7 separate regions of the Homo sapiens genome follow, and regions 2, 3, 4, 5, 6 and 7 are each linked to region 1. Evidence: promoter capture Hi-C in 16 types of primary human blood cells and fetal thymus (Javierre and others, 2016). All regions are on one chromosome and are shown on one strand. Each heading gives the region's core, a stretch centred on a gene start or on the middle of the fragment in contact. The rest is flanking DNA. Distances are from core to core; before and after follow the strand shown. Region 1 holds the start of FRS3 (fibroblast growth factor receptor substrate 3). Region 2 has its middle 45 kb from the start of TAF8. Region 3 overlaps TAF8 (TATA-box binding protein associated factor 8). Region 4 overlaps TRERF1 (transcriptional regulating factor 1). Region 5 has its middle 5.7 kb from the start of GUCA1B. Region 6 overlaps C6orf132 (chromosome 6 open reading frame 132). Region 7 overlaps GUCA1ANB-GUCA1A (GUCA1ANB-GUCA1A readthrough).

Region 1 (3,542 bases), core at 699-3,198:
TGAACAACCAGGTGACCTGTACCCTCTGTTCCTCCCAACTTGGGAAACGCCATAAAACTGACCCCTATACACAGCTCTTACCTCACCCAGGCCATCGGGGAGCTGACCGTGGGAGGGGCATGGGGAAGGGTTCCCACTTTATTCCCCCCGTCCTTGGTGGGCTGTCATGGCAAACAGTCTGCAGAGAAGTCACCCGGATCCCTCTGGGATACACCTGGGGCTCACCTAGCATAGGAAACAGAGACACTGATTAACAAAACCTTCTATCTTCACCCCCAACTGTTAATGAAAACTGACCTAACAGTCCATCCCACCTGGGTATCTGTTCCAGCCCTAATGGGACAAAAACACCAATGAAGAAAGTAAAATCAAGGGCAAAGGGAGCACAAATCCCAAGCCCCACGGGCCCTGAGAGGGACAGACACCAAGAACATCAATAAGTTTGAAGTCTAAGACGACCAAAGACCTTTTAAGTCACTTTAGATCTCCCTCTGAGTCCTGTTACAACAAACACCAAAACCATCACCTTACCTTTGCAGAGAACTTTAACTCTACAAAGAGCTTTCTCAAAAGGACACTGTGATATAGTAGAGACAGCACTGGTTTAAGACTCAGGAAACCAATATATCGGTCAGTTTTGTTGCTACTAAGTATCTGGGAGACTTAAGTCAACGCCCCCCCCAACTCCCACCTAAGGCCTTAGTTTTTGGGGGAACCATCTATAAACTGGGGAGCTTCTAGCTTAAATAACTTGCAGAGGTAAAAACGTAAGACAAACTTCACTAAAATTGACATGTTCATCTTCCAAGACAGGCTGCTTCAATTTCGCATTTGGAAGCTTGATAGATTTTCTGCTCCCCAAGCTCTGAAAGGCCTAATTTTAACATAAATGTTAACAGTAAGCCAAAATTTCAGGATATCTGAGCCCAAGGTAGACAAGTCAACAAGCCAGGACTCTGCAGACCCTGGACATCCCACATTCCTGCTCTGGAGAAACACTTCCCAGGGCCCCTTGCACCCTGCATCCTTGGACAACTTCCAGGTAAAAGGACCCCATCCCCTTGGTCTGGCTTATTTTCTGGAAGGAAGAAGCAGGCTCAGGGAGGTGTGCACAGACTAAAGATAGGTTGCTGGGAAAATACTGGGGCTTGAGCCACCGACGGGGGCACGGCGCGGGCACTGAAACGAAGAACTCTAGGGTGCAAGATGGGGGAGGGGCTGAATTTCCCTATCACCATCTCTTCTCCTTAAGATATCAGGATGTATCAGATAGCCCACTGAGGAGGGACTGCATTGAGTGGAAATGGGGAGAGGCCTCTGGTCTGGGATAGGTATGGATCAGGGGCAGGAGTGAGAGGGGGGTGTGGGGGCTGAAAACGTATGAGGACGTTTGGGGAAACATGAGCAAGAATTTTGGATGTGGGCATTTTGGATAGTGCAAGGAGAATGGGGATATGAGGGATCCTAGGAATTTCCGGGCAGTGGAAGCATTTGGGGGCATCCAAGAGAAATGGTGGGTCCGTGGGCATAGCAGGAGATTTGTTGAGTGAATGAGGGGGTTCTGAGGGCTCCAGGAGATGCGATGATGTGTCCAGGGCGGAGAGGGTAGAGGTGGGTTGGGGGAGCCAGAGGCTGCAGGACAGGCTACAGGACTGTCAAGGGGAATTTCTACATGCCCGTAAGGAATGAGGAGGTCTGGGTGCGCGCTGTCCCCGGATCCCCGCCCCCAGCCCCGGTGCTCCGCCGCCTGCCCGCCCGCCCGGGGCTTCCTAGGGAGGGAGTGGAGACTGCGGCGCGGCGCGGCGCGGCGCGGCGCGGCCTCGGTGAAGCCGCCTCGTCCCCGCCCCGCCGCGCCCCGACTCACATCGCCCCGCGGCCCGGGCGGCGCCGGGCCCCGCTCCCGGGTCCCGCTGCAGCAGCCGCCGCCCGCCCGGAGCTAAGGCCTCCCCGCCCCGCCCCGCCCCGCGGCCGCGGGGTCGGAGGTCACCGGCAGCACCAACGAGACGCTGCGGGCTGGCGGACCCGAGCGGGGGCGACCGGCACGCAGCCTAGAAGGTCCCTTTGGAGGACTTTGCAGTCGGGAGCAGTGAGCATGCGCAGACGCCAGAGGGCGCTCCTGGCCAGGGGCTGAGCAAGCCCGGAGGGGACAGGGCGGAGCCTGCGGCGGAGGCGGGGCGCGGAGGCGGGGCTGAGGACACCAAAGTTGGGGGTGGTCCGGGGAGCGGAAAGGGGACGGAGGGTTGGGCGAGAAACGAAGGGAAGGGGAGAGGGTCTGAAGGGACCTGAAAGGAGAAGGGCAAGACGATGGAACCTGGAAGAGGGTTGAGGGGAGGGGAAGGGGCCAGGGGGACCACTGGGGACAAGGGGGAGAGAACTGAAGGGAAACACGCGGAGGAGCGGGGCTGGGAGACCACAGGGAGAGTTTGGGGAGACCTGGGAACTGCGGAGAGACAGGGCTGCGGGCCCGGCGAGGCGTTTCCATTCAGCGAATGGTTGAAAACCCAGCGTAAACGCGGCTCCCGGCGTCTGCTGGATGCCTGCCGGGCGCAGTCCGAGCCAGAGAGCCCTTGCACCTGCATGGCAGAGGCCATGGAGCCCGCACATTTCCACCCTGAGATCCCATAAATGTGGTTTTGTTTTCCTTTTTTTTTTCCTCCCCCCAATCTGCAGCTCCAGGCCCCTCCCTGAGCCGCCCCTCTCCACCAGCCGGGGAGGGGCGGGCGGGGGCCGCTGGGGCGTGGGAGAGGAAGGGCCGCGCTATTAGGGCGGGCGGGGGCGGACGGGGGCGGGCGCTGAAGCCTTGGGGTGGGGACCGGGTGAGGGGCCTGACGGCAGAGTCGGTCCAGAACTGCCCGGACAGCGACGCACAGCGAGGGTGAGACCCCAGCGGAGTCCTGGTCCCCTCCCCTAAAATCCCAGCAGCCAGACCGGGAACCCCAGCGGACTCGGGAAACACCGCGTCCCAGCCCCGGAGGCGGGCCCGCCAAGTTCCAGAAAAACTCTGGGGATCTATCGAGAGGGCAGTTGGCGGGACTGGGCACTCCCCTTCCTTCTCCCTCCCACTGTCCCCAGAAATCTTCCCATCCCTCCACCTCCCCAAGCCCTAAGTCCTCTCGGGCTCTGCCCTTCAGGGCAGCGGGTGTTGGGGATGTCCAGCTCCTGAGCCCTCTTGCACGGAGGCTCTGCACGGAGGCAAGACAAGGGGTTCAGCTCTGTCCCTTATCTGAGGTGGGAGGGGGAAGGGAATTATGGAAGGAATCCAGCTGGCCTGTTAGTAAGGGTGTTCCAGTGCTAGGTGGAGGTGGAGTTTGGCTGCCTTTGGGGAGATTGGAAGGGTGAGGAATAGAGGCCTGATTTCTGAGTGTTGTTTCTGTGTTGGACAATTCTATGCAAACTAGAGCCAAAATGGAAGAGGGTGCAAGTCCCCTCCTGGGGCCCCAGACGCCCCCTCCTTTCTTGCTGCCTGGAGCAGGGGCAGTGCTGTTAGTGGCTACTCCTGGTGTGAACAGCCCATCCTGGCCACCTTCCACAGGAAACCTGAC
Region 2 (3,832 bases), core at 1,049-3,548, 320 kb after region 1:
CCCTGGTCTGCAAGGACCTTCAGAGTTGTCCCGCATTGAGGGGAGGGACTTAGTGAATGTGAGCTGCCTCTAGGGTGTGGGCGTGACCTTGGGTGAGGTGGCTCTCCCGGGAAGGACAGTTCCTGGGGAGGGACTGCCAGCTGCTGGCTGGGGGTGTGAAAGCTTCAGTCCTGGAAAGGGAGAGGGTCAGGGAGACAGTGTAGCACCCATTGTGAGTGCTTGCTGACCAGTATCATGAGGCTTGATTGAAACAGAAGCAAGCCTGAGCAACACAGCGACACCCCATCTTTTTTTTTTTTTTTTTTTTTTTTGAGATGGAGTCTCACTCTGTCGCCAGGCTGGAGTGCAGTGGCGCAATCTCGGCTTACTGAAACCTCCGCCTCCTGGGTTCAAGTGATTCTCCTGCCTCAGCCTCCCGAATAGCTGAGACTACAGGTGCGCGTGACCACGCCCAGCTAATTTTTGTATTTTCAGTAGAGATGGGGTTTCACCATGTTGGCCAGGCTGGTCTCGATCTTTTGACCTCGTAATCTGCCCACCTCAACCTCTCAAAGTGCTGGGATTACAGGCGTGAGCCACCGTGCCCGGCCTACACCCCATCTTTAAAAAAAAAAATGTTTTTAATTAGTGAGGCATGGTGGTGTGCACCTGTAGTCCCAGCTACTCAGGAGGCTGAGTGGGAGGATCACTTGAGTCCAGGAGTTCAAGGATTCAGTGAGCCATGGTCATGCCACTGCACAGCAGCCTGGGCAACACAGTAAGACCCGGTCTCTAAGATAGGTAGATAGATAGATAGATAGATAGATAGATAGATAGATAGATAGAAGCAAAAGTATCTTATTTTTATTTTTAAATATTTTTTGAGATGAGGTCTCACTATGTTGCCTAGGCCAGTCTCAAACTCCTGGGCTCAAGCAAGCCTCTCAAGTAGCTGGGGCTACAGGCATGCACCACTGTGCCTTGCTGAAAGTGTCTTTAAAACATTATGGCCACCCAAGGAATGACTGTTAGCCTAACAGTGACTCTATGACCACCTCCCAGTACTGCTTACCCCAAGCCTGCCCTCTCTACTTACTGCCCTCTCTGGAACAAAAATTTGGAGAGATGCTGTCACACCCACCCCAGCCACATTGCCCTGGGGGCAAAAGGCAGTGCAGCAGGTGCAGTTTGGCTCCCTAGCACCCTCCAGCTGTGTGGCCTTGGCAAGGTCACTTGGCCTGTGGAGGCTGTAGTTTCTTCTTTGGTAAGCTGGGAGTGGCACTATCTGCCCTAAGGGAGATGAGGTGATGACACATGACACTGCACAGCAGGGGTTCTCAAAGTGCCATCCCTGTACCATCAGGACTTGCAGCCTCATCTGGAAACTTGTTAGAAATGTGAATTCCCAGCCAGGTGTGGTGGCTCACGCTGTAACCCCAGCACTTTGGGAGGCCGAGGTGGGTGGATCACCTGAGGTCAGGAGTTCGAGACCATCCTCACCAACATGATGAAACCCCATTTCTATTAAAAATACAAAAATTAGCCAGGCATGTTGGTGGGTGCCTGTAATCCCAGCTACTCGGGAGGCTGAGGCAGGAGAATTGCTTGAACCCAGGAGACAGAGGTTGCAGTGAACCGAGATCGCACCACTGCACTCCAGCCTGGGAGACAGAGTGAGACTCCATCTCAAAAAACAACAAAAAAAGAAAGACATGTGAATTCCCCAGCCCCATCCCAAACCCACTGAATCAGGAGCTTTGGAACAAGTCCCACACACCTGTGTTTTGACAAGTGCTTCTGATGCACTTCTGAGTTTTGAGAATGACTGGTGTGCCAGACAGCACCTAGCTTTGTGCCTGGATCCTAGGAGAAGCCATGTCAACCTCAGATGGATCTCAGTCTGAACCTGAACCCCACCAGTCACACAAACTTCAGGCACTTGTGAGCAAAGTGCCACCTGTTGGCTAATGCCCACTCCACATGCACACACGGGGATGCCAGGCTAAGACTGCGGTGCTGGACACCAGGGTAAATTACACAGGTGCCTTCTGGCACTCCCCTCTCCTCTCCCTGGAGAATCCAGTTAAAGTGAATGTCAAGGGCAGCTTTAAATGGCCAAGAGAGGTCACCGAAAGACCACAACTCACTCTGTAGGAAAAATAAGCACACAAAGGGCATCCCTCATTCCTCTGCCCAGCTCATGCACGTGCTCCCACAAGGGTCACAGGCCAGCAAGAGAGGACACCCACAAGGACAACCCAACAGTGCCCCATGTGGTCCCGTGCTCTCTTGGGCCACCGGGCTCTCCTGGGTGGAAGAGCTTTGCATTCTCCTGCTCCATAGTCCAGTTATTTGTGTGTACGTCTGTCTTCCACACTCAACTGTGAGCCTCTTGCGAGGTTCCTTGGCTTGTACTGAGTGGCGCCCCCTCGCAGTGTTGAATTGCATTGGTGGAATTCTGTGCTGCCCTTAGCTATTAGAACAAATGCTGGAAAGTTGTGAACCAAAAGGCAGGAAGATGACAGATGGGGTAGCCCAGAGAGAGACAGAGAAAGTAGGAGCCTACCAAACCCTCTTGAATGGCTCAGAAAATAAACTAAGGCAACAATGAAAAGCGGCAGGAGATGCTTCTCTGCAGTGAGGAAAGCTGAAAGGAGTCAGAAGGCTCAGTCTGTAGAAGACAAGACTGAAAATATTCCATTTTCAAGAATGAGAAGGGAGTATAAGTGCGGTGGCTCTTGCCCGTAATCCCAGCACTTTGGGAGGCTGAGGCAGAAGGATTGCTTGAGCCCAAGAGTTCAAGACCAGCCTGGGCAACCTAACGAGACCGTGTCTCTACAAAAAATAAAGACAAAAATTAGGAAGAGCACGGTGGCTCACGCCTGTAATCCCAGCACTTTGGGAGGCCGAGGCGGGTGGATCACAAGGTCAGGAGTTCAAGACCAGCCTGGCCAAGATGGTGAAATCCTGTTTCTACTAAAAATACAAAAATTAGCCAGGTGTGGTGGCGGGCGCCTGTAATCCTAGCTACTCAGGAGGCTGAGGCAGAGAATTGCTTGAACATGGGGGGTGGAGGTTGCAGTGAGCCGATCTCACACCACTGCACTCCAGCCTGGGCGACAAGGCAAGACTCCATCTCAAAAAAAAAAAAAAAATTAGCCAGGCCTGGTGGTGAATGCCTGTAGTCCCAGCTACCAGGAAGGCTGAGGTGGATCACTTGAGCTCTGGAGGCTGTGACCTATGATGGCACTATTGCACTCCAGCCTGGGCGACAGAGCAAGACCCTGCCTCAGGAAAAAAAAAAAAAAGAAAGAAAGAAAGAAAAGAAAATGAGAAGCCAGTGTCCCACTTCTGAGAGTAGCATTAGGGCTAATGATCCTATGCTGAGATGGAAGAGATTCAAAACAGCAAGTCTACTGGGTCCCCACTCTGTGCTTAGACCCCTGCTAGGCCCTCAAAACCTTGTGCAGGGAGCTCACTCCTTAATAAAAACCAAACCTAGAACTGTAAGGCTTTCCTCTTGAAGGTGGGCTCTGCAGGTGGGGAGGGCTGGTGAACAGGTCGGACCTGGCTGGCTTCTGCCACCCTGGCCCCCAGAGGTGCTTTCCTTCTCAATTCTCCCGCCCACATGTAATGGAAACTTTACCCTTGGTCCACAGCTGAGATAGGCTGTGGCACCAAGTAAGTTTGCTGAAGACCAAAGGAGCTCAAAAGGGAAAAAGCAACAGAGTGCAAGTCACTTGGATTGTTGGAGCTGGCCGCCCCTGTGGCTGGCTCACTGGTGGGGTGTAGAGGGCTGCCTGAGATCCTTTGAGGACCAGGACTCCCTCACCTGGTGCCATAACATCCTAGC
Region 3 (3,549 bases), core at 55-2,554, 300 kb after region 1:
TCACTTGAGGTCAGGAGTTCGAGACCAGCCTGGCCAACATAGTGAAACCCCGTCTCTACTAAAAATACAAAAATTAGCCGGGTGTGGTTACTCATGCCTGTAATCCCAGCTACTCGGGAGGCTGAGGCAGGAGAATCACTTGAACCTGGGAGGCGGAGGTTGCAGTGAGCCGAGATCGTGCCACTGCACTCCAGCCTGGGTGACAGAGCGAGACTCCATTTCAAAAAAATAAAAAAAGGATAAAGTAAACAATAGGAAAGGATTTGGTGGGGTGAGGGTGGGGTGTTGAGGGCTGGGCCTCATCTTGTATTCTGAAAGCTGAGAAACGGCTGGTCAGCTGGAAGGCTGGTGGATGGGCAGGAGTGAGCCAAGCTGAGGCGTTCTGCAAGAAGCAGGTCTGAGTCTGTCCAACCAATTTGTATCCTGTGGGGAGAACAACTTCATTCTTAACATACCCTACAAACCAGAAAACAAGTTTTTAAGGAAGATGCTGGGCATGCTGATAGCTTTTCTGGTCTCCTAAGGAAGAGTTTTTAAAACTAAATCCAAGGAAGAAAAATGTAACAACACGTGGAAGTGAACACTGGATGAATAAGCTTGTTTCCCAAATTAGAATCCTAACGTCCATATTTAGCTTCATGTATTCCCCTTTGGCTTCCACAGTTCAACTCCTTTTATTTTGAGACAGGGTCTCGCTGTGTCGCCCCAGCTGGAGTATAGTGGCACTACCTCGGCTCACTGCAACCTCCACTCCCCGGGTTCAAGCAATTCTCAGAGTAGCTGGGATTACAGATGCCCGCCACCACATCTGGCTAATTTTTTTTTTTTTTTTTTAGTAGACACGGGATTTTGCTATGTTGCCCAGGCTGGTCTTGAACTCCTGGCCTCAAGTGATCCACCCGCCTTGGCCTTCCAAAGTGTTGAGATTACAGGCGTGAGCCACGGTGCCCAGCCCATCTCTTAGTCTTCCATTCCCTTGGTGAATTTGGAAACTTGAAAAACTTGGGGACTTGACAGCAGGCTCCATGTTCTTCTGGCCTCACTGTACTGTGTAAGGAAAGAGCTGCTTGTCAGGAACGGAAGAGGGGACGCTAGTAAAAAAAAAAAAATTGGATTCCCCAACTGGACTAAATAGGAGTTTTTCAGGTTTGTAGTAACGTGAAACTCTCCTAGATCGAAGCAGTTAGACTGGCCTATGTGGCCTTCTCAGGGTTTGTGATTCAGTTCTTAGCGATTCTTGGCCTGATAAGTTTATGAACACAGCCCCACATTCAAGCCGTGGCCAATCCCAGCTGTTCTCACTGCTCTTGGGAGGTGTTGTCCCAGTCAGTGTTTCTGCAGCTTCCATTTGTTGTTGTTATCCAGTGTAAGCACCTGTTGAATGCAGATGTGCTGAGTTAGAGGTGGGATTTGGAAAAGGGCTGCTATTTCTGCTGTTGAGATTTCAGAGGCTATACTCTTTTTTTTTCTTTTCTTTTTTTTTTTTTTTTGAGACGGCATCTCACTCTTATCGCCCAGGCTGGAGTGCAATGGCGTGATCTCGGCTCACTGCAACCTCCACCTCCTGGGTTCAAGGGATTCTCCTGCCTCAGCCTCCTGAGTAGCTGGGATTACAGGCACCTACCACAATTCTCGGCTAATTTTTTTTGTATTTTTGGTAGAGACGGGGTTTCACCAGGTTGGCCAGGGTGGTCTCGAACACCTGACCTCAGATGATCCACCCACCTCGGCCTCCCAGTGTGGGTGGGATTACAGGCATGAGCCACCGCGCCTGGCCTCAGAGGCTATACTCTTATAATTTTGTTCTGAGGGGAGACAGGGAAAGGGTTAGACAACTTGAAACATTGACCCTGTATAAAAATGCAAAATTCTCAATGTGTATTTATAAATTTCTATTTTTTATAACTTTATGGGACTTCTTAGAGGCCAAAAGTAGTAAACATGCAGATTAAAAATGTTTATGAAAATCTCAATAAAAATTCATAATAAAAACTTTGTAAATAAATAGAACTGTAAGCTTTGAACTTAATTTGTGTTCAAAAGTTAACAGCAATGTGGACAAATAAGTCAGGCTTAGCCCTTGTGTTGGCCTAAGCACACCTGGGAACTTAGTAAAACTTTTATTTTGGAAATTTTCAAATACAAAATTAGAGAGCAAAATATATGAACCCCTGTATATGCCTCATCAAGCTTCCACACTTGTCAGTAGCTTGTTGATTCTGTTTCATCTGTTTCTCCCACTTTTTGTCCTTTATTTTCTTTCCTCCTGGAGTGTGTGTGTGTGTGTGTGTGCGTGTGTGTGCGTGTGAGACAGAGTTTCGCGCTGGAGTGCAATGGTGCAATCTTGGCCCACTGCAACTTCTGCCTCCCGGGTTCAAATGATTCTACTGCCTCAGCTTCCTGAGTAGCTGGGATTATAGGTATCTACCACCACCACCACGCCTGGCTAATTTTTTCTTTTTTTTTTGGAGACGGAGTCTCGCTCTGTCGCCCAGGCTGGATTGCAGTGGATTGTCAAGATTGCAGTGGTGCAATCTCAGCTCACCGCAAGCTCCGCCACCCAGGTTCACGCCATTCTCCTGCCTCAGCCTCCCAAGTAGCTGGGACTACAGGTGCCTGCTACCACGCCCAGCTAATTTTTTGTATTTTTCAGTAGAGATGGAGTTTCACTGCATTAGCCAGGATGGTCTCGATCTCCTGACCTCATGATCCGCCCGCCTCGGCCTCCCAAAGTGCTGGGATTACAGGCATGAGCCACCGCACCTGGCCTAATTTTTTTGTAGGTTTAGTAGAGATGGGGTTTCACCATGTTGGCCAGACTGGTCTCCAACTCCTGACCTCAGGTGATCACCTGCCTCAGCCTCCTAAAGTGCTGAGGTTACAGGCGTGAGCCCCCGCGCCTGGCTCTTCTGGAGTATTTTTAAATGCAAACTCCAGACCTGTGTCATTTAATCTAAATGTGTCTATACGTATCTCTGATTGATCTTTCTTTAAATTTTAATTTTGGAATAATTATAGATTCACAAGATGTTGCAAAAAATGTTGAGAGAGATCCTATGTACCCATCACCCACTTTCTCCCAGTGGTAGCATCTTGCATAACTGTGGTGCAATATCAAAACCCTTGCATTCAGTTTCAGTGTACAATGTAGATGGTATATTAGTACAATGCATAGAGCTTATTTAGTTTTCACCATGTGCACGTGTGTGTTATGTGTGTGTTGTTCCGTGCAGTTTCATCGTGTAGATTTGTGTAACCACCAGCACACAAATGGTGAAGACACAGAACCATTGCATCAGTACAGTTCTCCCTCATGCTGTCTCTTTGCAATCACATCCACCTCTCTGCTCTTCCACTTCTCTCCTGGCAGCCACTACTCTGTTCTCTATCTCTAATGTTATTGAAAGAATGTTATAAATTGAATCATAAAGTATGTGACTTTTTTCTTTTTGAGACAGAGTCTTGCTCTATCGCCTAGGCTGGATGGAGTGCAGTGGAGCGATCCCAGCTCACTGCAACTCCTCCACCTCCCGGGTTCAAGAGATTCTC
Region 4 (3,541 bases), core at 230-2,729, 450 kb after region 1:
GGTGGAATGTAGCGTTGTAGCCTGTTTGAGCCTAATGAGTGGGTGGTGCTAGCTCCTCTGGGGGAAAACTGGCAAGACCCTGATACCCTGATGCTGCCACTCCAGGACAAATAAGCGGGAGATCACTGAGAGTCAGCTGAGGGTGGTTCCATCATTATTTCAATTAAAAAAGCCTTAAGATCAATCCAGGGGCCCATTTCTTCCATGGTGCACCAGTGTGTGGTGGGTGGTGATGTTAAAATGACATCATGGCCAGCTTGGAAGGACAGCAGGGTGTGGAGGAGACCCACACCGAATCCCATCTCTCCCATCCCTGTGCTTCATGGGGGGAAGTGATCTGCTAGTTCCAGTTCACTTTGGTGGGTGCCATCAAGCTGGGCTTAATCAGACGCAGCATGGCATAGAGCCAGGAGCACAAGGCCAGGCCAGCCTGCATGGTGTGAATCCCCACTAGGCTGCTCGCTGTGAACTGCAACAGGGGCTTCACTTTTCTGTGCCTCAGTTTCTGCCTGTAAAAAAGAAGCTCCTAAAAGTACCTGCCTCATAGGGCTATTTTAAAGATTAATCAGTACATGTGCTATGGGTTGAATGTGTCCCCCAAACAGCACATGTTGAAAACTGAATCCCTAATGCAGCTATGTTGGAAGGTGTGGCCTAATGGGAGGTGTTTCAGTGACGAGGGCCTCACCCTCATGAATGGATTCATGCCGATTATAATAGGGTATGAGGCTGCAAGTTCAACCTCTTGCTCTCTCTCCCCTCTCTTTGCCCTTCCACAATGGGATGACTTAGCAAGAAGGCCCTTGCCAGATGCAGGCCCCTTGACCTTGAACTTCCCAGCCTCCAGAACTATAAGAAATAAATTTATTTTCTTTATAAATTATCCAGTCAGTGATATTCTGTTGTAGCAACACAAAACAGACTAAAACATGTAAAGAATCCTTTAAAACAGTGCCAGGCACATAGTTAGTACCTGATAAACAGCAGTTACTATTAAGTTGCCTGCTCTACTCTATGAGGATGTATAAGTAGAGGTCCCACCTAGCCTTGCTGATGTAACTAGGGATGTTTTCGTGGTAGAGTTTCAGAAACCACTTGGGCAGCATCTCTCCCAGGTAATACTCCTTTTCATGCTCGAGGCACTAGGAATTATGGGAAGAGGAACTCAGCAAGGCTCCTAAAGGATGTAATTCATAACAATGTAGTACCCTTCCAGTCAGGTGGACTCATTGAGAAGTACACTGGAATTCTCTACTGGAGGCTGTGGGAGGGAATCACCCATCTTACCATCAATGGCATTTTCTACCTAAAGCAAAAAACAAAGTAAACCAAAAGGAAAGAGCAGTGGTCAGAAGCCCAGGTCTGCATTCGGACAAAACTGGGTTCAAATCTCAGTTCTGCTCTTTACTGGCACTGTGATTTAGGTCAAGTCATTTTACCTAATTTTTAAACCCTTATTTGTAAAACAAAGATAAAAAAACAGTATCTGTATCACATGGAGTTTCTATGTAAGGATTAAGTGAGCTCACACACATAAAGCATGTAACAAAGTAAATGCTCAGTAAATGTTAGCTATTATAATTACTATCTCGTTACTTTTTTTCTTTAGCTGTTGTTGTTTTTTAAATTATACCTAAAAGGGGAGGATAACAAATAGGTTTTATTTCATGTGTCAACTCTGATTAATTGGTTGTGCAGCTTGAAGCATGACAACAAAAAGTAATTGAGGCTTTGTCTTAAAGTGATAGCAAAGTGTGGTGATTGATTAGTGATGTCTGCCTTAGTCACAGAAGTAAGCGAAGGTGGTAGGATTACCCTGTATGAGCCATCTGTGTTACAGAGAGTTCCTGATTAGATGTTGTAGAGCCATTCTCAAATCATTCAGCGGGGATCCAAACAGAGTAATGCTAGTGAACATAGCTTGGGTGTGAAGGGAAGGAGTGGGAACCAGAGTCCCACCTGCCATTCCTGGGAAAGAGTGAAGTTTTGTAACTTACAGGTTCACTCTCTGAAGATATCCATCCTTACAAGGCTCTAAGATAACAGAATGGCCATATTCTGAGTCTGCAACAGGACTACATACCCATCCCAAAGATGACACGAAGAAGAGTTTTGAGGTCTAAGTTCTTTTTTCTGATTGAAGAAACCTCAGGCCATCCTGGCCCAGCTCCCATAGAGCGACTACCCATCATGAACTCAGATTCAGTCCCCGGTCCCCTGCACCTACTTGCCACACTCCTTGCAGGGGAAGATGGTGGTGGGGTCTGTCTCGCCGCTGGTGGTGCTGTGAGAGGGTGAGCTCTTTACCGAACAGTACCCACTCTGGGTGCCACCAGGCTTCTGCTTCCCAGAGGGGATGGCACCTCGGGCCTTGGTCACCTGGTTGGTGCCCCCGTGGATGCGGGCATGGCCATTCAGTGCCTGTCGGGAGCTGAACACCTGGGGAAGAAAGGGAGTGACATGACATCTACAGTCCTGAAAAGGAAATTAGGGTTATTAGTTACTCAGTGGTAAACATGGAATACTTGAAACTGTCTAATGACAGGGCACAAGGGTTTTATATAAGCAAACTTTGGGCATATGCTACAAAAGGTAAAGATCAAATACCACAACCACAGATCCTGTGCCAATCAAAACCTCATCACTGCTACAATCAGAAGAGAAGAAGCGACGTGGCACAGGATAAAGAATAAAGCTACTGTCTAGAAGTCAAGACGTCAGGGGTTTGGACCCAGCTCTACTATAACTAAAGCTGTTGGGCCATTTCCCTTCTGTATACTTTATTTTTTTCCATCTGAGGAATGAGAGGGCTGGACCAGCTTTCAAACTTTTTTTTTTTTTTTTTTTTTTGAGACAGAGTCTCGCTCTGTCACCCAGGCTGGAGTGTGGTGGTGCGGTCTCAGCTCACTGCAAGCTCCGCCTCCCAGGTTCACACCATTCTCCTGCCTCAGCCTCCCGAGTAGCTGGGACTACAGGCGCCCGCCACCACGCCTGGCTAATTTTTTGTAGTTTTAGTAGAGACAGGGTTTCACCGTGTTAGCCAGGATGGTCTCGATCTCCTGACCTTGTGATCTGCCCGCCTTGGCCTCCCAAAGTGCTGGGATTACAGGCGTGAGCCACCACGCCTGGCCTCAAACTTTTTTAAAGATGATAACTACCTCCTTCTTTTCCTCCCATTTTTCTTCCTTCCTTCCTCTTTCCCTCCCTCCTTCCTTTTTAGGAAATCAGGTCTTACTAAAAAAACTCAGGCTCAAGTTAAAAGCAGAGGTGCTCTGGCTAGAATGGAGACAGTGCCCCAGAATTGCGCCTGTTTGCTCAGCTCTATCTACCCCGAGGAAGCCCTAGCACCCTAAGGAATCCAGTTTGAAAGACAGTGATTAGGTTTTCTGACGTATTCTACGTTGTAGATAGCCTTAATCAGTAGCCCATTGTTGAAGCAATGTTTAAGACCCCCAAATTTTAATACAGATGATAAAAAGAAGAAGGATCTTGGCAGAATTTTAAAATCCTGCCATAAAGCTGGGTTTTCTTAACATCAGCA
Region 5 (3,751 bases), core at 683-3,182, 420 kb after region 1:
TGCAACCTCTGCCCCACCGGGTTCAAGTGATTCTCCTGCCTCAGCCTCCCAAGTAGCTGGGATTACAGGCGTACGCCACCATGCCTGGCTTATTTTCTATTTTTAGTAGAGACAGGGTTTCACCATGTTGGTCAGGCTGGTCTTGAACTCCTGACCTCAAGTGATCCACCCACTTTGGCCTCCTAAAGTACTGGGATTACAGGCATGAGCCACCGCTCCCGGCTCCGATTTTATTTTAATTAACTAATTTATTTATCCTGAGACAGGGTCTCTGTTGCCCAGGCTGGAGTGCACTGGTGCTATCAGGGCTCGCTACAGCCTCGACCTCCTGGGCTCAAGCAATCCTCCCGCCTCAGCCTCCTGAGTATCTAGGACTACAGTTGTGCGCCACCATGCTTGGTTAATTTTTTGATATTTAGTAGAGACAAGGTCTCACTATGTTTCCCAGTCTTGAACTCCTGGGTTCAAGTGATCCTCTTGCCTTGGCCTCCCAACTGCTGGGATTATAGGCATGAGCCACCACACTTGGCCTTTATTTTGGTTTTAAAAGAAATTTAAAATATTGGGCCCTAGGCACTGTGCCTACTGGGTAAACTGACCTGCCCACATCCCCTGCCCAGCTATTGTCCTAAATTTTGCTCCCCTTACAACAAAGCCCCTTGTGGCAGATGTATCTTCAGAAAATGGCAGGACGATCATTCTGGCTTCACGCATTCCTCCCATCAAAGGGAGGAGTCTATTATCTTTCTCTTCAACCCGGAGGAAACTTTCTGGCTGCCTTGTTGAAGATAACTGCAGAAATGACACAATGTGACTTCCAGGGCTAGGTCATCAAAAGTGATAGGTTTCCACCAGGCTCTCTTTCTCAGAACTTGCCCTTGGAACCCAGCCACCATGTTGTGAGGAAGCCCAGAGCACATGCAGGGGTTCTGGCTGAAAGCCAGTCTCAACCACCAGACATGGGTGAATGAGCCTTCAGATGACTCCAGCCCCAGCTTCTGAGCTACTCCAGCCCCAGCTTCTGAGCTACCCCAGCTAATACCACATGGAGCAGACACTATCCCTGCAGAGTCACTGTTTTAAGCTACTAAGTGTTAAGTGTTTTTTGAGGTAGCAATAGATAACTGGGAAATTCTCAAACCTATTTTGCATCCTCTTTTTAAATCTCTTATTCTTTCCTCAACTTACTCCAACTGGACGTTCATCCCCATCACTCCACAGAAATGGCTTTTATTGTGGTCACCAATGATCTACTTTTTTTTTTTTTTTTTTTTTTTTTTTTTTAACCTAACCTGCCACAGATTCATCACAGTTCACCAAACTAAGTTCTTTCTCCACTCTACATTTCAAGGACCCACACTCCTCTGATTTCACTCCAGCCTCACTCATTGCTCATTTTCTTTGCTAGCACCTCTTGCTTTTAACCAAATCTCTAAAAGCTGGGAGCTTTCCAGGCTTGTCTTTAGTACTCTTCCTTTGTTTACCCACACTTGCTCCCTAGATGATCTCATTCATTCCCATGCCATTACACACCATTTACAGGCTGGCAGGTTCCAAATTTGTATCTTCAGCCTGGACCTCTCCCAGGAACTCCAGATGCATGTATTCAACTGCCTACTGGACATCTATACTCAGATTGCAAACTTAGCAAGGCCAAAACCAAATTACTGATTTCCTTCCCGAGTCCCACCTTATCTCTTCTCCACCTCAGTAATGGCACTGCTATTTACGCTTAGGTGAAAACCCAGGAATTATCCTTGAATGCTCTTTCCTTTAGATTTCACTTCAATCTACTAGTAGGTCATTTCATCAGCTCTTCCTGCAAACTATACTCTAAATCAAACCACTTCTCCTCACCTCCATTCCTGACATTCTCGCCCAGACCAGCATCATCTCACCTGGTCCACCGCAGCAGATCCCTAACTGGTCTCCCTGCCCTCTCGTCACTCCTCTTTCACCCAGCAGCCACAGTAGCATACAGCAGATCCTGCCACTCTCCTGCTCAAACCCTCCTTTAGCTTTCCATTTGCTGAGAATAAAATCCACACTCCTCCCCATGCCTATGATGCATTACACGATCTAGTCCCTGCCTACTTCTGTCTTCATGGTCTTCTACACTGCAAACACACCAAACTCCTTCTAGAATCAGTGTGTCTTTGCATGTATTGTTCCTCCTACTTGGACTGTTTTTCCTCCAGATTTTTTTTTTTTTTAGATGGGAGTCTCGCTCTTGTTGCCCAGGCTGGAGTGCAATGGCACAACCTCGGCTCACTGCAACCTCCGCCTCCCAGGTTCAAGCGATTCTCCTGCCTCAGCCTCCCGAGTAGCTGGGACTATAGGCACCCGCCAGCAAGCCCGGCTAGGTTTTGTGTTTTTAGTAAAGATGGGGTTTCACCGTGTTGGCCAGGCTGGTCTCGAACTCCCGACATCAGGTGATCCACCCATCTCAGCCTCCCAAAGTGCTGGGATTACAGGCATGAGTGACCACACCCAGCTTCTTCCTCCAGATGTTAACACCACTGCCTCCTCCTCAGAGAGAACTTTCCCAACTCCCCCTCAGGTAGCCACTCAAGTAATTCTGATATTATCCCATTTTATTTTCTTCACAGTACTTAATTGCATCTGAAACTATCTTATTTTTTTCTCTACTTGTCTGTCTCTCTCACTAAAGTCTATGATCTTTGAGGAGAGGGACTTCACTATATACATTCCAGAATTCCCAGCGTTTAGAACAGTACTTGGCATGTACAGGAAACTCAAATACTTGTTGAGTAACTGAGCAAGGTCCTTGGCACATGGTCAATGCTGAATTAACGTCAGCTATCACTCCTTCATTTTACAAGACAATTCCTCTTTGACTCTGTTTAGTGTCTAGATTAGCAGGTATTTGTTGAGATAAAAATGATAATGGGATTTTAGAACTGGAAAAGGCCTTGAAGATTATCTAGCCCATTAATTTCCAATTACCCATCTCAACACACTTTAAGATAACACATGCCCATCAGCAGCCGTGGCTCTGTAACAGCAGCATCTCAACTGGCTTGGTGTGAAGGTAGTATTATTCCCATCCATCTCTCTTTTTTTAGACAGGGAGACAGGGTCTTCCTCTGTCACCCAGGCTGGAGTGCAGTGGAACACTCTCGGTTCACTGCAACCTCCATCTTCCGGGTTCAAGCAATTCTTATGTCTCAGCCTCCTAAGCACCTGGAATGCCCAGCTAATTTTTGTATTTTTAGTGGAGGTGGTGTTTTGCCATGTTGGCCAGGCTCCATCCATCTCTTAACACTTATTATTTAAGCAGCATTGAAGATTGATTAAAGTACAGTATCTCTGCCCAAGTTAAGAAATTTTATGAGTGAAATATAACTTGATTTAACCTCTGGCCGAGGAATTTAAAATTCAATTGGTTTTTCATGTGGGTCAGTTGCCCATGACCTGCCCTATAAATAAATGTCGCTGAGCTACTGAGTTATAAATATATCATTTTAAAGAGGATTAGAAATCCAGCCGGGCATGGTGGCTCAAGCCAGTAATCCCAGCGCTTTGGGAGGCTGAGGTGGGCGGATCACTTGAGGTCAGGAGTTTGAGACCAGCCTGGCCAACACACCGAAACCCCATCTCTACTAAAAATACAAAAGTTAGCTGGGCGTGGTGGCGGGTGCCTGTAATCCCAGCTACTCAGGAAGCTGAGGCACGAGAATCGCCTGAACCTGGGAGGCAGAGGTTGCAGTGAGCCGAGATTGTGCCACTG
Region 6 (3,801 bases), core at 61-2,560, 350 kb after region 1:
GTCTCTACTAAAAATACAAAAAATTTGCTGGGTGTGGTGGCATGCACCTGTAGTCCCAGCTACTCAGGAGGCTGAGGCAGGAGAATCACTTGAACCAGGGAGGCGGAGGTTGCAGTGAGCCAAGATTGCGCCACTGCACTTCAGCCTGGGGGACAGAGTAAGACTTTGTCTCAAAAAATAATAAGAAGAAGAAGAAGAAGAAGAAAATAAGAAAAGGAGGTGTGGGGCTGGGCGCGGTGGCTCACACCTATAATCCCAGCACTTTGGGAGGCCGAGGTGGGTGGATCATGAAGTCAGGAGTTCAAGACCAGCCTGGCCAATATGGTGAAACCCTGTCTCTACTAAAAATACAAAAATTAGCCGGATGTGGTGGTGGGCACCTGTAATCCCAGCTACTCAGGATACTCAGGAGGCTGAGGCAGGAGAACCGCTTAAACCCGGGAAGCAGAGGTTGTAGTGAGCTGAGATTGTGCCAGTACACTCCAGCCTGGGTGACAGAGTGAGACTCTGTCTCAAAAAAAAAAAAGAAAAGAAAAGAAAAGAAAAGAAAAGGAGGTGTGGCTGCAATCAGGCCAACTCTCTGGGCCCCTCAGACCTGGCCTAGCTCCTGCTGGGTGGAGGCACAGCATGAGGTGAGGCGCGTGTGTCTATCTCCATCAGCTAGATCCTCAAAGCATTCAAGGTCAGAACTGGGGTCTTCCCAGCCTCAAGGTCAAGGCCCAAAACTAAACAAAGACAACAGAGCTCAACCTTGGGGAATTTCCTATTGGAAGTGATGAACTTTGCTCAGATCACAGGTCAGGGATGCTGAGGCCTTCCTGAGAAGCAGCTCCCTCCTCAGTCGAGGAGCTAAAGGAGGGCTAGGAACATCCTGGTTTCCCTTGAGGAAGGAGGGGCGAGGAGGAGGTGAAGGGGGTGCCTGGAGAGGAGGCTGGATGATTTGCTCTCGGAACAAGACTGCAGTGAGAAAGAGGGGCACAGCCCCGTGTCTCATCCACTCTGAAACTTGCAAACTCCCTTGGTGTCTGGCTTTTTCTGGAAAAGTCCTTCGGGATCTCAGAGGTTTTATGCTTGCCACATGCATGGACCACAGAGGCAGCATTGGAACATCCAGGTGGGATTCAGAAAGCTGGAAAAGGAAGGGAGATGCCCCTGGACCCAGGAGCTTCCAGAGAAAGAGAGTCCTGGGGCAATTCCAGCAGCCAGGAAGCCTTGTGAGACCCCAGCAGCAGGTTCTGAGCAAGGCCTGAGCCCCAGATGGACCACAGTCCTGTCAAGATACAAACTTCTGACAAACTCACATGCAAATAATGCAGTGATAAAATAGGGGTAAATCCAGGTCTGCCTCCATTGACCCAAACCTGATCTTTAAATGAACCAAATTTCCCCCCAAATGGAATCCTATTTATGACAAGATTATGCATAGGATTACTTTAGAGTTTCTCCCTAACAATTTCTCCCTCATAGAAGGAGACAGGGGCGGGGGCGGGGCGGGGCGGGGCGGGGGAGGTGGATTTACACTCCCTCAAGGATTTGAGTTGACATAAATATTAATACCATCTAACATCCAAAAACCTGTTCCAAAAACAATTCCTGGTGCCAAGCAGGAGACTTCACCCCAGATTTCAACCTGGGTACAGGCAGCTCCCCTCCTGCCCCTTCTCCCTCAGGAGAACCTGGCTCTGCCATGGGCCAGAGGGCAGCAGAGTTGTGGCTGAGGCTGCCTGGGCTGTGAGGAGACCATGGCTGAGGTTCTGCCCTGGCCGGAAACACCCAGTAGTCGAACAGCTCCTGGCTGGGACGGGAGGCAGGACCTTATGGGGTCAAGGCTATGGGTTTAGAGCCCAGCTGAACTTGGGTTCCAGTTCCGGCTCCAACACTTAACTGTGGGATCCTGGGAGCCTCACTGGTCTCTCTGAGGCTGTCTCTTTATCTTTGTACATGTGAACAGTGGTCCCTGCTGGGCAGGCTGATGTGAGGTTGAGTGAGAGAAAGTGTGCAAAAGTCATCAGCACAGTGCCTAGCAGATATTTATGCTCAATAATTGGGAGGGTTGGCTGGGAGTGGTGGCTCACGTCTGTAATCTCTGCATTTTGGGAGGCTGAGGCAGGAGGATTACTTGAGGTCAGGAGCTCAAGATCAGCCTGGCGGCCGGGCACAGTAGCTCACGCCTGTAATCCCAGCACTTTGGGAGGCCAAGGCGGGTGGATCACCTGAGGTCAAGAGTTCAAGACCAGCCTGGCCAACACGGTGAAACCCCGTCTCCACTAAAAATACAAAAATTAGCTGGGCGTGGTGGTGGGTGCCTATAACCCCAGCTACTCGAGAGGCTGAGGCAGGAGAATTGCTTGAACCGGGGAGGCAGAGGTTGCAGTGAGCCGAGATTGAGCCATTGCACTCCAGCCTGGGTGACAAGAGCGAAACTCCATCTCAAAAAAAAAAAAAAAAAGACCAGCCTGGCCAACATGGTGAAACCCCATCTCTACTAAAAATACAAAAATTAGCCAGGCGTGGTGGTGGGCGCCTGTAATCCCAGCTACTCAGGATACTCGGGAGGCTGAGGCAGGAGAATCACTTGAACCTGGGAGGCAGAGGTCGTAGTGAGCTGAGATTGCGCCACTGCACTCCAGCCTGGGCAACAGAGTGAGACTCTGTCTCAAAAAAATAATAATGATAATTGGGAGGGCTGGTTATTGTTGTGATCGTCATTTTCTCTCTGCTCCACCTTACTTCCTTCCACCAAGAGTTTGGGCTGTGAGCTTGAGCTGGGCTGTGTCACTTGCAAATCATGGTGACACCTGTCCCCACTGGGGAGAGCCACCGGGAGGCAGGCGGCCCTTTGGGCCCTTTGCTTTCTTGTTCGGGTTCACTCTGAGTCCTGATGCCTGGGGCTGAATAGCCCTCTTTGCAGCAACCCAGAGTGGGAGAGGCTGGATCAAGGTTGCCTAGCAGGGGTCAAACATGGCCCCTGACTTGCACTGCCTTACGCATGGCAGGGCACGTGGCTCCCTGCCTCTCCCCAACAGGCAGACCTGGCTCTCTCAGCCTGGGCTGGGGTACGTGTTAAATGTGGCGGGTGGGCCAGCTCCGGGCGAGCTGAGAGCTAGGTACATGCTGCCACAGGACGCCCAGCCCTTCTTTTCTCCCTTGCTCCCCGAGCGGAGGAGCCTCACTGAGTCTTCTGCATTTCTTTGCTCACAGAGTTCAGGGTTGGAAGGAATGTTCTTCCTCCCTCAGCCCCAAAGCTGCTCATGGATCTCCATGGAAGCTGAGGTCAGAAAGATTCTGGGACAGTTATTTAGTTCTTTCCCCACATTCTAGCTAGGTCCAAACTAGAGAGAAAATTAATTTGATTAATTAAATACTTAAATGTCTAACATCTATTAAGCCTGTGTTATGAGCAAGGCACTATTCTAAGCCCTCACCACCCCATGGGGGAAGTACCCTTATTATTCCCAATTTGCAGTTGAGGAAACTGAGGCTCAGAGAGGTTAAGTCCCTTGCCCAAGTTCCCACAGCTGGTGAGTCAAAGGGGCCGGGATTCCAGGCCAGGCAACATGACTCTAGACTCTGATTCCCTCATGTCATAGCCAGCATGGCAGGGAAGGAATGTAGGGATTCAGCGTCTCTCCCCTCCATCTCTTGTTTTTCCTGAATGAGACTTGAAAGTTGGTAAGGCCTAATGGGTGCAGCACACCAGCATGGCACATGTATACATATGTAACTAACCTGCACATTGTGCACATGTACCCTAAAACTTAAAGTATAATAATAATAAAAATAATAAAAAAAAAATAAAAA
Region 7 (3,688 bases), core at 546-3,045, 390 kb after region 1:
TCCAGATGAAAATACAGCCCAGGTGACACCCTGAGAGCAGCCTTGTGAGACGCTAGGCAGAGGACCAGCTAAGCTGTGCCTGGACTCCTGGCCCATAGAAACTGTGAGATAATAAATGTGTGGCCAGGCACGGTGGCTCATGCCTGTAATCGCAGCACTTTGGGAGGCTGAGGCAGGTGGATCACCTGAGGTCGGGAGTTTGAGACCACCCTGACCAACATGGAGAAACCCTGTCTCTACTAAAAATACAAAATTAGTGGGGCATGGCGGCACATGCCTGTAATCCCAGCTACTCAGGAGGCTGAGGCAGGAGAATTGCTTGAACCTGGGAGGCAGGAGGTTGTGCTGAGCCGAGATCGCATCATTGTACTCTAGCCTGGGCAACAAGAGTGAAACTCCATCTCAAAATAATAATAATAATAATAATAATAATAATAATAATAATAATAATAAATGTGTGTAGTTTTAAAACTGCTGACTTTGTGGTTATTTGTTATGCAACATAGAAAACTAATATAACACACACATTAGCCAGAGTTCTTCAGAGAGACAGAGCTAATAGGATTATATATAGAGGTATGAGAGAAGATTTATTAGGGGGATTGGCTCACATGTTTATGGAGGCTGAGAAGTCCCACAATATGCCATCTGCAAGATGGAGAACCAGGGAAGCCAGTAGCATGGCTCAGTTCAAGCCCAAAGGGTTCAGAGCCAAGGAAACTGATGGTGTAACTCTGGGTCTGAAGCTGAAGGACTGAGAACGTGAGAGTGGGGAGGGGTTGCTACTGGTGCAAGTCCTGGAGTCCAAGGGCAGGAGAAGAAGAGTGTCCCAGCTCCAGGACAGAGAGAGAGAGAGAGAGGGAGAGAATTCACCTTTCCCCTGCCTTTTTCTTCTGTCCAGGCCTAAGCCAATTGGATGGTGCCCACCCACATAGGCTGAAGGCAGATTCTCCTTACTTAGTCCATGAATTCAAATGCCAGTCTCTTTGGCAAGCACCCTCACAGAAACACCCAGAAATAAAGCTTTACCAGCTTGTTGGGTAATCCCTTCATCCAGTCCTAAAATTAACTGTCACAACACATAAGCAAAATGTCAGTATGCTGTGGGAGGAAGATATTTGAGAGAGATTTGGGAAGGCTTCACAGAGGAGGTGGCATTTGTACTCACACATGAAGAGTGAGAGGGATTTAAATAGAAAGGGAAAGATGAGCGGCTGCCTTGTCCCCAACCTCTTCATTTCCCAATCTTGGGCCTGAGAGTCCTCGGCAAGGACACATTTTCCAGCTGGGCCCCAAGCAAGTTCACAGAAGGAGTCCTTCTCTCCCCGTCCCTTAACTTGTTGTGGAGAAGCTGACTGAAGCAGGGAGAACCCAGCTCCCCACCCCCATATACCTTCCGTCAATCAATTCATGTGGAGTAGAGGTAAAACAGTCCCAGTTTGTCTCTTTTTCAAAAATAACTATCCTCTTTGATTTTGTGAGCAACATATGTTCATTATGAACAATTTTTTTTTTTTTTTTTGAGATGGAGTCTCTCTCTGTCGCCCAGGCTGGAGTGCAATGGCGTAGTCTCGGCTCACTGCAAACTCCGCCTCCCAGGTTGAAGTGATTCTCCTGCCTCGGCCTCCCAAGTAGCTGGAATTACAGGCGCCCACCACCATGCCTGGCTAATTTTTGTATTTTTAGTACAGATGGGGTTTTACCATGTTGGCCAGGCTGGTCTCGAACTCCTGACCTTGTGATCCACCCGCCTCAGCCTCCCAAAGTGCCGGGATTACAGGCGTGAGCCTGGATCTGGTAAGGCTTTAACAAAGGCCTCCACCTTCCCTAGGGCCTGACTACAGCTGGTAGGTGGCCTGTGTGAGGCAGGTTGGATGTCTGTTCCTACACATAGCCCTTCTGGCCGTCCAGGGCCCAGAGTGAATGGGGCTAAAGGGACAAGAGCACGATTGGCTCTAACCCAGGGATGCTGCTGTGTCCAAGATGCAGTATAAGTGCACCTAGATTGTAGTGAACAGCACATCAGACATGCTGCTGTAATAGATACAAAATCATAACATCATAGCCAAGATTTATGGGGCACTTACTCTGGGGCAGACCTTGTTCTAAATGCTTTTCTTATATTAACTCACATACTCTTTTTTTTTTTTTTTTTTGAGATAGGGTCTCGCTTTGTCATTCAGGCTGGAGTGCAGTGGTGCGATCTTGGCTCACTGCAACCTCCGCCTCCTGGGTTCAAGCGATTCTCCTGCCTCAGCCTCCCGAGTAGCTGGGATTACAGGAGTGTGCACCATCACGCCTGGCTAATTTATGTATTTTTAATAGAGATGAGGTTTCACCATGTTGGCCAGGCTGGTCTCGTACTCCTGGCCTCAAGTGATCCACCCGCCTCGGCCTCCCAAAATGTTGGGATTACAGGTGTGAGCCACCGTGCCCAGCCCCACTTACTCCCCTTAACAGCCCTATCAGATGGGCGCCATTATTCCTATTTTAAGAATGAGGAAACTGGGGCCCAGAGAGGTTAAGTTACTTGCTCAAGGTCACCCAGCCAGTAATGTAAGCAAGAAACAAGCTTGTATTGTTTTCAGCCACTGAGATTTTAGAGTGGTTTGTTACTGTAGCATAACCTAGCCCATTCTGAAATATGTATGCACATGTATTTGATATATGTTATATGTTGTATAAATTGTATATTTATATAAATCTATTTACATGTAATTATATATTATTTATATAAATCATATAAATTGTGTATCAGTGCACAACTTGACCAAGTGTCCAAGGCCCTGGTGGGGAAAGCAGAAATATGGGCAGTGGTTCCCTCTAGATGAGTTAGGAGACCTGGGTGTGCCCCATATGTAAAGGAGGAAGGCAAACAAGAGAAAAAGACAGGGCAGGGCAAGCGCTGGCTTTAAGCTTTCCTGGCAGCATCCAGGTTAAGTGCACCTGCACCCAAATGCTGGTTCCATAAATGAGCCAGCTTTTAAGTGTGTGGCTAGGGAGTACGCATCCCACCAGGCATCAGAGAAAGCTGTTGCTGCATAGACAGGCCCCCAGGCTTGGCCTGGGAGCTTTCCAGGACCAGCAGGTAGCAGCTCACCCATGCACCTGTGTGCCTGCACTCTCACACTCACACATACCCCAGGGCACCAGGCGCACACTCCATGTCCCCTGCCCTGTGCCCCTAGTAGGTGATGGTGATGATGTGAGGCTCAGAATTAGATGGAAGGATGAATTCAGGGCTCTCAAGAAGGGAGAGATGCAACCTTCAGGAACATGAGAGTGTGGCCAGAACAGGATGAGTGTGTACGAGTGTGTGTATGTGTGTGCACGTCTCTGTGTACTGGTGCAGGCTAATGTAGGAGGGGGTTCTCTCTGGCTGTTCAAGGCTTATCTTGGAAGCCCACAGACTCTGCATCCACCCAGGTGCCCTCAAATGTTAGCACACTCATGGTATGATTGGACCCCCTCAGTTGTGATGGCCAAGTGCAGTGCACAGCCTGGATAACTGTACACAGCAGCCCTGTCAAGAGCCCACAGTTGGCCATCTCTGGACAAGAAGCCAGCTCTATCTCATATATACCTCAATTCCATGATTGAAGGCAGAATCCAAAACCACTGTGAATCCACTCAAACCAGGAGAAGAAGGTCACAAAGGTCATAGGATCAGAGCAGCTTCTAGCTGACA

What was found. The method cuts DNA at HindIII sites, captures the fragments that hold promoters and counts their contacts. A CHiCAGO score of 5 or more calls a contact.
Region 2: a fragment that was not itself captured here is called in contact with the fragment with the promoter of FRS3 in region 1 in 1 of 17 cell types (total CD8 T cells); the score reaches 5.2 in total CD8 T cells.
Region 3: a fragment that was not itself captured here is called in contact with the fragment with the promoter of FRS3 in region 1 in 9 of 17 cell types (erythroblasts, megakaryocytes, total CD8 T cells and 6 more); the score reaches 8.8 in erythroblasts.
Region 4: a contact is called between a fragment that was not itself captured here and the fragment with the promoter of FRS3 in region 1, in 1 of 17 cell types (total B cells). The highest score is 5.1, in total B cells.
Region 5: a fragment that was not itself captured here is called in contact with the fragment with the promoter of FRS3 in region 1 in 10 of 17 cell types (naive CD4 T cells, endothelial precursors, naive CD8 T cells and 7 more); the score reaches 9.0 in naive CD4 T cells.
Region 6: a contact is called between a fragment that was not itself captured here and the fragment with the promoter of FRS3 in region 1, in 1 of 17 cell types (erythroblasts). The highest score is 5.1, in erythroblasts.
Region 7: a fragment that was not itself captured here is called in contact with the fragment with the promoter of FRS3 in region 1 in 15 of 17 cell types (total CD8 T cells, naive CD8 T cells, naive CD4 T cells and 12 more); the score reaches 18.4 in total CD8 T cells.

Annotation. Positions count from the first base shown.
Region 1 is chr6:41,777,952-41,781,493 of GRCh38, forward strand. FRS3 (fibroblast growth factor receptor substrate 3) reads right to left here and starts at 1,949. Exons shown (of 7, transcript NM_006653.5): 1 at 1,865-1,949; 2 at 82-225. It overlaps PRICKLE4 (prickle planar cell polarity protein 4), which reads left to right and starts at 2,831. Exons shown (of 8, transcript NM_013397.6): 1 at 2,831-2,875; 2 at 3,399-3,542. RefSeq lists silencers at 1,675-1,824, 1,855-2,264, 2,545-2,614. The HindIII fragment of the contact is 6,259 bases long and covers 837-3,542 here.
Region 2 is chr6:42,094,069-42,097,900 of GRCh38, forward strand. No RefSeq gene overlaps it. Among named protein-coding and RNA genes, the nearest start is that of TAF8, 45 kb to the left of the region's middle. The HindIII fragment of the contact is 4,276 bases long and covers 161-3,832 here.
Region 3 is chr6:42,078,900-42,082,448 of GRCh38, forward strand. TAF8 (TATA-box binding protein associated factor 8) reads left to right here. Exons shown (of 9, transcript NM_138572.3): 9 at 1-3,549. Among named protein-coding and RNA genes, the nearest start is that of TAF8, 30 kb to the left of the region's middle. The HindIII fragment of the contact is 1,421 bases long and covers 595-2,015 here.
Region 4 is chr6:42,230,454-42,233,994 of GRCh38, forward strand. It overlaps TRERF1 (transcriptional regulating factor 1), which reads right to left. Exons shown (of 18, transcript NM_001395490.1): 17 at 2,228-2,475. The region is part of intron 1 of LOC105375061 (a long non-coding RNA gene); the gene reads left to right. Among named protein-coding and RNA genes, the nearest start is that of MRPS10, 14 kb to the left of the region's middle. The HindIII fragment of the contact is 7,864 bases long and covers 1-3,541 here.
Region 5 is chr6:42,198,741-42,202,491 of GRCh38, forward strand. No RefSeq gene overlaps it. Among named protein-coding and RNA genes, the nearest start is that of GUCA1B, 5.7 kb to the left of the region's middle. RefSeq lists a cis regulatory region at 530-1,216. The HindIII fragment of the contact is 4,638 bases long and covers 1-3,751 here.
Region 6 is chr6:42,132,343-42,136,143 of GRCh38, forward strand. The region is part of intron 1 of C6orf132 (chromosome 6 open reading frame 132); the gene reads right to left. Among named protein-coding and RNA genes, the nearest start is that of C6orf132, 8.4 kb to the right of the region's middle. The HindIII fragment of the contact is 7,031 bases long and covers 1-3,801 here.
Region 7 is chr6:42,169,510-42,173,197 of GRCh38, forward strand. The region is part of intron 1 of GUCA1ANB-GUCA1A (GUCA1ANB-GUCA1A readthrough); the gene reads left to right. Among named protein-coding and RNA genes, the nearest start is that of GUCA1A, 2.0 kb to the right of the region's middle. The HindIII fragment of the contact is 1,549 bases long and covers 1,022-2,570 here.